2 separate regions of the Homo sapiens genome follow, and region 2 is linked to region 1. Evidence: promoter capture Hi-C in 16 types of primary human blood cells and fetal thymus (Javierre and others, 2016). All regions are on one chromosome and are shown on one strand. The core of a region is centred on a gene start or on the middle of the fragment in contact, and the rest is flanking DNA. Distances in the headings are between cores, read along the strand shown.

What was found. Contacts are between HindIII fragments. The CHiCAGO score rates a contact against its expected background, and 5 or more counts as called.
Region 2: a contact is called between a fragment that was not itself captured here and the fragment with the promoter of PTPRS in region 1, in 3 of 17 cell types (M1 macrophages, M0 macrophages and total CD8 T cells). The highest score is 8.8, in M1 macrophages.

Annotation. Positions count from the first base shown.
Region 1 is chr19:5,337,953-5,342,199 of GRCh38, forward strand. It overlaps PTPRS (protein tyrosine phosphatase receptor type S), which reads right to left and starts at 2,860. Exons shown (of 38, transcript NM_002850.4): 1 at 2,712-2,860. It overlaps LOC105372252 (a long non-coding RNA gene), which reads left to right. Exons shown (of 5, transcript XR_936279.3): 5 at 1-114. RefSeq lists an enhancer at 248-921 and a silencer at 2,788-3,067. The HindIII fragment of the contact is 5,182 bases long and covers 1-4,247 here.
Region 2 is chr19:5,501,403-5,505,764 of GRCh38, forward strand. No RefSeq gene overlaps it. Among named protein-coding and RNA genes, the nearest start is that of ZNRF4, 48 kb to the left of the region's middle. The HindIII fragment of the contact is 217 bases long and covers 2,261-2,477 here.

The DNA of each region.
Region 1 (4,247 bases), core at 1,610-4,109:
TCCCCTTCTCTGTCGCCACCTCACGCAGACTTCAGAGGCTCTCAAGGTTTCCTGGAGAGGGGGAAATCGTCCCCGGAGCTGACCTGCCAACCAGTAGCACCCTCCAGCGCCTCAGCCGGGCCACGCCAAAATGACCTGTCACCCATCTCCCGCGGGGAGTGGGGAGCGGGCCAGTCCACCGCCTCTTGGGACGGCATCTCTGGACGGCCACTGACAGTACCAGTCTCTGTCACCCCCTGGGGGGTTAGGGGCAATGTCATCGGCCAGGGTGGCAGAAATAGAAAAGTGCGTGAGCTCACCAGGCAGCCTGGGTCTCCTGCGACGTTTTGTTTGCCTGAGCCCAATTAGAACAACTCTCAGGATGATGGAGTATGGCGGGCGGTGGCCCCCAGGGGGCTGGGAGGCCTAGCCCCCATGCAGAAGTGCACCGTCATGATGAGGGTGTCCCCCGGGCCTGGGGAACAGGGCAGGACCCTGCTTCCCGGAGGGAAATAATGAAGACTCCGCCAGCCTGCCAGCCAGAAAGAGATGCCCCACGGAAGGCTTTGTGGAGGGCAGCGGGGGGGTAGGGGAGGGATGCCCAGGTGGGGACTCAGTCAGGCCCAAGCTGGGGGGCTGTGGGATTTGAGGGCGGGAAGCAGCCGCCCCCAGCCCCAGCTGCCTGCCTTCCACCGCCAAAATATCAGCTGGCAAAGAAAGAAGAGCAGAGGGACAGAAGGCAGGCGCGATTGGCAGGGGGAGGGGGGCACAAAGGAAGGGACCCTGGGAGGGGGAGGGGACTTATGCAAATGGCAGATTCGACCAAGTCCCTGGGCCATTAATAAACGCTCCAGCAGCTGCCGCTGGTATCGCAGGAGCAGAGGAGCGGGATGGCTTCCTTCTCCCGGGCGAAAGGCGGCAGAAAGAGGGAAGAAGGGCGCCCCAGACAAAGAGGCGCCGTCACCCTCTGCACCCCAAGGACAGCAGCGATAGGGGGCCACCCAGAGGAGGCCAGAATCCCAGCAGCCAAAGTCCGGGTGGTGGCGGACGGGAGCCCGGAGCGTGTGGGTCCCTGTCCTTGGGACCCTAGGGGTCTCTTCCTGCCTCCTCCGGCTTCTAGGTATCATCCCTGCTGCTCAGCCGGGACTCCGACACCTCGGACACCCGCTTCACTAGCCGCGGCTGCCGGGATGTGTTTTTAGGGTCTCGGCCAGAGGCAGGAGGACCCCATGCTCAGAAGGGGGCTCCCCTAGATTGTGACGGGGGGGGACAGGGGAATCCCAGCTGAGCCCAGAAGGGGGAGGCAAGGCACCCCCAATGAGGCTCTGGGAGGTTTGTTAATTTGGGGGAATGAGGTCCCAGGAGGTGGCTGGATTTGAGGAAGGGTTGCAGAGGAAGGGGCGTTCTTGGAAGCTGCATATTTAGGGAGACGAGAAGACGATTTGAGACTGGGGAAAGAGGGTCAACCGAAGAAGGAGGTCCCAGATTTGGGGCGGGGGGTGTGGCTGAAAAAAAGATTCCCAGTTTGTGGGAAAGGTTCCCTGATTTGAGGATTCTGGAGAGAAAGCGGCCGAAGGGGAGTTCCCCAATTTGGGAAGGGGGGGAATTGGTGGGAAATGTCCAGGATTTGTAGGGGGAGGTCCGAAGGGGAGGATCTTAATTTTAGGAGAGATTCCCATAAAGAGAGGTGAACTTGGCCGCAACCTGGCCGAACCCTCGCACCCACGGCGCGGGCACTCTAACCTGGGGGGCTCCCCTCAGGGCACGCCCCGCGCCCCCTTTAACCCAGTGCCGACGGCCCCGCCCCCGGTATGACGTCACCTCCCCTCCCCCCGCAGCCCCCGGGGGCTCCCGGGGCGTGCGGAACCCGCGGGGCTGGCGGTTCCAGGGGCGGCTTCCCCACTCTCGGGATCCCCACGGGGCCCCCAGCGCGGAGGGGAGACTGGGGTGCTGGGCGTGCGCGTCTGCCTGCCAGAGCCCCTGGGGCTGGGGGCTGAGGCTCGCCCCTGGGTGGGGAGGCTGGAAGGGGGCGCCGAGGCCGCAGAAGGGTGGGGCAATGCCCGAGTGCCGGAGGGGCGACCTCCCATAAGGCAACGACAGGGCCCGGAGTGTTCCAGGGGAGACGGCGTAGACTAGGGGGTCTCCAGGGGAGGGAGACCCGGAGAGGGAAGGCGGCGGGCGCAGCAGCCCTGGAGCCACCCCGCCTGGAGCCACCCGTCCCGGCTCCTCTCCGCTCCGGGGCGCCCGCATGCCCCCCATCCCCCGGCACAGCGCCCCCTGCCTCCAGGACCCGCCCGGGGACCCGGGCCGGGCGCCGCCGGGGCCGGCACCGGCTCCGCACACACGCGCGCCCCCCTCCGCGCCTCTGCCCCGCCCGCAGCCCGGGGTGGTGCAGCCGGCGGCGCTGGGCAGCTTCCAATGCCGCGCTCTGGGCGCTTCCAGCCCAGCCCCCTCCCACGCCGCGGACGAAGCCCCCCCAGCACCCCCTGCCGAGCGCCCCCAGCGCGGCCCCGGCCCTGTCCCTCGGGGCATTGTCCGGGCGCAGCTACCGGGGCGCAGCGGCTGGGCGTGCAACTGGCTGCAGCCGAGCATCCTCCGAGCACAATGGCCGTGCAGGCTTCCCCGGCACAAAGCCGGCGCGCTGCCCACTCGGCTGCCTCCGAGACCCCCCTTGGAGCGCCTGCATTTTTTTTTCCTCTAATCCATGATTTTATTTTTTTTTTTGGCTTTACCTGGAGGCTGGCTGGGCTGGGCTCCCCCGGCTCTGCCCCGCTTCACATCGTGGCTGTTGCATGGGATCCGAGCGGAGCCCGAGCGCCAGCGGCTCGCGGCGTGCGCGCGCCGGCCGGGCTGCCGGGCGGGCGGCGCGAGGACACTCACTGCGGCTCGCGCTCCCCTAGCTCCCGCTCGCGCGCCCCCCCAGCCGGTGACGTCATCCCTTCCGCCAGCGCCGCCGCCGCCGCCGCCGGGTCGGGGGCAGGGCCGGCCCGTGCGCGTCACTGCGCAGCCGCGCGGCCGCCACGCCCCCCGGCCAATGGGACGGCGCAGCGCGGTCACGTGGCTCCGGGGTGTTTAAAGGGCCGCGGGAGCACGTGGGGCGCGGGGCTTCGCGGGACACGTGGGCGGCTGGGGTGGTGGTGGTGGTGGCGGCTGCGGCGGCGGCGGGAAGGGCCCCTGGGGCTACTGTCCGTGCGGGAGCCCCAGCGTCCTGGGTGCAAAGGGCATGGCACTTTCTGTGCGCTGCCCTAAACTGTGCCACGGCTCCCCAGTACCCTTGGAATAAAATCCCGCCTCCTCTCTGCAGCTCGCCGTTTCACATTAGCGCCCACTACCCTGTCCCCTCCCCCCCACCATGTCAATGATCCAGAAAAACCAGCTGCTCCTTCTTTGCTTTTTCAGAGATGGGGTCTGCCACCTGGGCCTCAGTACAGTGGTATGATCATAGCTCACTGCAGCTTCAAACTCCTGGGCTCAGGTGATCCTCCCGCCTCAGCCTCCTGAGTAGTTGGGCTCGGGTGATCCTCCCGCCTCAGCCAGCTTCTTACAGTTCCTCTAACTTGAGCATCCAAGAACTTCCCCTTCTCATCTTTCCAATTTCTGCTCAAATAAGCAGCGCCTGGGAGAAGCCCTCCCTGACAACAGCTACCAGCCACGCCCCACTCCACTCTATCCCATTATCCCGGTTTGTTGTTGTTGTTGTTGTTTGTTTGGTTTTGAGTCGGAGTCTCACTCTGTCGCCCAGGCTGGAATGCAGTGGCGTGATCGCGGCTCACTGTAACCTCCGCCTCCTGGATTCAAGCTATTCTCCTGTCTCAGCCTCCGGAGTAGCTGGAATTACAGGCGTGCTGTCACCACGCCTGGCTAATTTTTGTATTTTTGTTAGAGACAGTGTTTCACCATGTTGGCCAGGCTGGTCTTGAACTCCTGACCTCAGTGATCCGTCCACCTCGGCCTCCCAAAGTGCTGGGATTACAGGCGTGAGCCACCGCGCCTGGTCCCATTATCCCGTTTTTATTCTAGTTACACTACAGTGTGGCTCCAGAGATCCCTATTGTAGGTTGAACACATGAATGAATGGATGATGGAGCACTTCTTATAGAGTAAGCACTTTACACAGGTCTCACCTAATTACCATCCCCTGCTTCCCTGGAGTCAGGACGAGCCACAGTTGGAACCCAGCTAAAACACTGATTTGCTGTGTGAGGCCCGGAGCCTCACTTTCCCCATCTGTAGAATGGATTTGCCTCTGGATCTCAGCTCTCATCTGT
Region 2 (4,362 bases), core at 1,119-3,618, 160 kb after region 1:
GGTGTCTTCATCAGTCTGGATGGACTGCTACAGTAACAAAGAACCTCTTGGAGCCAGCCTCCAAGATGGCCCCAATGAGCCTTTGCCTCCTGGTATTCATGACCTTGTGGGGTCTCCTCCTCCACTGAATCGGGGCTGACTCGTGAGGCATATAAAAGTGACAGTGAGTGACTTCTAAGGCTGAGCCTTATATAAAAGGCACTTCAACTTCCTCCTTGGATCAACCCCTCTAGGAATGAGCCAGCAGCCATGTTGGAAGAACACTCAAGCAGTGCTATGGAAAATTCTGCATACAAAAGTGAAGGACAGGCTGGGTGTAGTGGCTCACACCTGTAATCCTAGCACTTTAGGAGGCCAAGGCAGATGGATCACTTGAGGCCAGAAGTTCAAGACCAGCCTGGCCAACATGGTGAAACCCTGTCTCTACTAAAAATACAAAAATTAGCCAGCTGTGGTGGCAAGCACCTGTAATCCCAGGTACTCCAGAGGCTGAGGCAGGAGAATTGCTTGAACCTGGGAGGTGGAGGTTGCAGTGAGCCAAGATGGTGACACTGCACTCCAGCCTCGGTAACATATTGAGAAAGAGGAAAGAAAGAAAGAGAGAGAGAGAGAAAGAAAGAAAGTAAGAAAGGAAGAGAGAAAGAGGGAGAGAGAGAGAGAAAGAGGGAGAGAGCGAGAGAAAGGGAGAAAGAAAGAGAAAGAAAGAGAGAAAGAGGGAGAGGGAGAGAAAGGGAGAGAGAAAGGGAAGGAGAAAGAAAGAGAAAGAAAGAAAGAGAGAAAGGGAGAAAGAGAGAAAGGAACTCCTACCCACAGCCATGTGGATGAGCTTGGAAGCAGCTCTTCCAGCCCCAGTCAAGCCTTCAGATGATACAGCCCCAGTCAACATCTTGACTGCAACCTTGTAAGAACTTCGGAGTCAGAATTGCCCAGCTAAGCTGCTCCCAAATTCCTGTCCCATAAAACCATGAGAGGTAATAAATTATTATTTTAAGCCACTAATTTTTCAGGTAATTTATACAACCACAGTAACTGGAACAAGCTCCTAAATCTTAGTGGCTCTAAAACAACCAAGGTTTATTTGTCATCCACACTATATGCCCAATACAGGTTGGCAGGGGGCCTCTGTGTCTGCCTCACTCAGGCATTGAGACAGATGGAGGAAACATCAGTGGTCTCTAAGAGAGGGGAAAGAATATGAAGAATGGGATACTGGATTTTAAAGGCTTTTACTGAAGGGGATTAACATGACTTCTACTCACATTTTATTGGCCAAAGCAAGTCATGAAGCCACACCTCACTTCAAACGGCAGCTATTGGTGGGGTGCAGTGATTTACACCTTTAATCCCAGCACTTTGGGAGGCTGGGACAGGAGGATCACTGGAAGCCAGGGGTTTGAAACCATCCTGGGCAACATAGGGAGACTCCATCTTTACAAAAATAATTTTTAAAAATAGCTGGGCATGATGCATACCTGTAGTTCTAGATACTTGGGAAGCTGAGGTGGGAGGATCACCTGAACCCAGGAGGTTGAGGCTGCAGTGAGCCATAATCACACCACTACACCCCAGCCTGGGCAACAGAGTGAGACCCTGTCTCAAATTAATACAAAAAAAAAAAAAAAAAAAAAGACAGGTGTATGATTTTGCTGGGGCTACCAAAACAAAATACCACGAAGTGAGTGGCTCAAACAACAGAAATGTATTTCCTCATAGTTTTGGGGTTTTTGTTGTTTGTTTGAGATGAAGTCGTGCTCTGTTGCCCAGGCTGGAGTGCAGTGGCACAATCTCGGCTCACTGCAACCTCCACCTCCCGGGTTCAAGCGATTCTCCTGACTCAGCCTCCTGAGTAGCTGGGAATACAGGTGCCCACCACCACGCCCAGCTAATTTTTTGTTTTTGTATTTTTAGTAGAGATGGAGTTTCACCATACTGGCCAGGCTGGTCTTGAACTCCTGACCTCGTGATTCACCCACTCGGCTTCCCAAAGTGCTGGGATTACAGGCGTGAGCCACCATGCTTGGCCTATTTCCTCATAGTTCTATAGGCCAGAAATTCAAGACCTACATGTAAGCAGGGCCATGCTCCCTCCAAAGGCTCTAGGGAAGGATCCATTCCGTGTTTTTCTGCTGGCTTCTGCTAGTTCCTTGGCTTGAGGTGGCATAACTTTAATCTTCACATGGCGTCCTCCATGTGAATCTTAGAATTTCTGCCTTCAACTTCTCTTCCCTTCTGCCTATTACATAGCATTTCCCCAGCTCCAAGCTTCCCCATATCCCTCCAAAGTCCAGAAAATCAAATAAGTTATTCTTTATCTCAGGAACTTCCAAATTTCACCTTTTCCCTCCTCTTGTCTGTTATTTGCCATGTCTAATAGAGCAAGGTTGCAATGTCACCTTTCACCAGAAGAGGCTGCTCACACACACACACCGTCTATCTTCCAGCTAAACACCATCCCTGCCTTGGTTTGTAGTAGATGAAGCTTGAAATTGCTTATGATCACTAGGAAGTCAGGGACACCTCAGCATAGAAACTCCCACAGTCATGGGCTTAACAAGGCTGGGCCCATAACAGTTGTTGGTTGTAAACCTGGGAGGCAGGTGGTATTGACCCCATTTTATAAATGGGAAGTCTGAGAAGCCCAGCGTTGCAGACCCACAGTCTTTTGGCTTCCATATGTGACCTGGCCCTATATTCTTTACTCATCTTTTATCACCTACCTGATATCTAATCCCTCAAATCCTGTCCTGTCTGCCTTCAAAACCTATCCAGAATCTGGCCACTCCTCTCTCTTCCTCTGCCTTCACCCTGGTCTGACATCTCATCGTCACTTGCCTGGAACCACACAGTCCCCTCTTCCCTGGTGCCCAGCTCCCGACTTCACCCCCCACAGTCTATCCTCCTCTCAGCAGCCACCAGGGGCACCTGTGAGCACCTGAGTCAGATCCTGTCCCTCCTCTGCCCATAGCCCTCCAAGAAGCATTCCCAGAGGAGATAATACATGGTCTAAGAATTCAATTCCACCAAATTAGCTGGAAAAGAAAGGCAGAGATTTGCTCCTGCACACCAGCCTCTCCCCACCTTCAGGACTTTACCCACACAGCCTCCTCCTTTGTCCAGAGAACCCTTCCCTTCCTCCTCACCTGGCCTACTTTGCCCAGTAAATTGGGGCAGAGCTGGGTGGGTATTCTGCATGCCCTTTCCAGGCAAAGTTGTTCCAGTTCCTCATGTCCTGCAGGGTGAGACATTGAGCTCCTTTCTCTTTGCTTGCTCATCCCAGAATCTCAGTTTTCTCATCTGATAAATGAAAATCAAAGAGACAATCTCTTGGGTCTGGCTCAAAGAGTATTCTGAATGCAAGTTAGTATAACCATCATTATTATTTATGACCAGAAGCTCCATAGTAACATTTGTCAAGACTCTTTTAAGCCACCGGCCTCAGTTCCAATCCCACTTCCTCAGAGAAGCTCCCTTGATATGGACTAAATGTTTGTGTCCCCCCCATCCAAATTCATAAATTAAAACCCTAACACCCCTCCCCAACTATGGGATGGTAATTGAAGGAAGGCTCATGATGGGATTAGTGCCCTTACAAGAAGAGACACCAGAGAGTTTGCTCTGTTTCTGCCATATGAGAACACAGCAAGAAGGTGGCCATCTGCAAGTCAGGAAGAGAGCCCTCACCAGGAGCTAAATTGGCTGGCGCTTTGCTCTGGGACTTCCCTGCCTCCAGAACTGTGAGAAAATGATCTTTTGTTTAAGCCACGCAGCCTGTGGTACAGACAGTCCCTGATTTACAGTAGTTCAACATAATTTTTTTATTTTTTGAGGGTGACAAAAGCAATATACATTTAGTATGCTACTCTAAGTCAAGTAGCAGTGAGGTGGAGGCTGGGCATGGTGGCTCACGCCTATAATCCCAGCACTTTGGGAGGCCAAGGCGGGCAGATCATGAGGTCAGGAGTTCGAGACCAGCCTGGCCAACATGGTGAAACCCCGTCTCTACTAAAAATACAAAAATTAGCCAGGCATGGTGGCACGCACCTGTAATCTCAGCTGCTCCGGAGGCTGAGGCAGGAGAATTGCTTGAACCCAGGAGGTGGAGGTTGTAGTGAGTTGAGATCGTGCCATTGTACTCCCGCCTGGGTGACAAGAGCAAGACTCTGTCTCAAAAAAAAAAAAAGACAATGAAGTGGCTTCCAGGTAAACCCATTATAAGCTGAAAATATTGTAAATCTAAAACGTATTTTGACTTATGATATTTTCAACTTTTGATGGGTTTATTGGGTAATGACCCCATTGTAAGTTAAGGAGCATCTTTGTTTAGTGATGGCAGCTGGAGCAGACTTCACTATCCTCACAGCC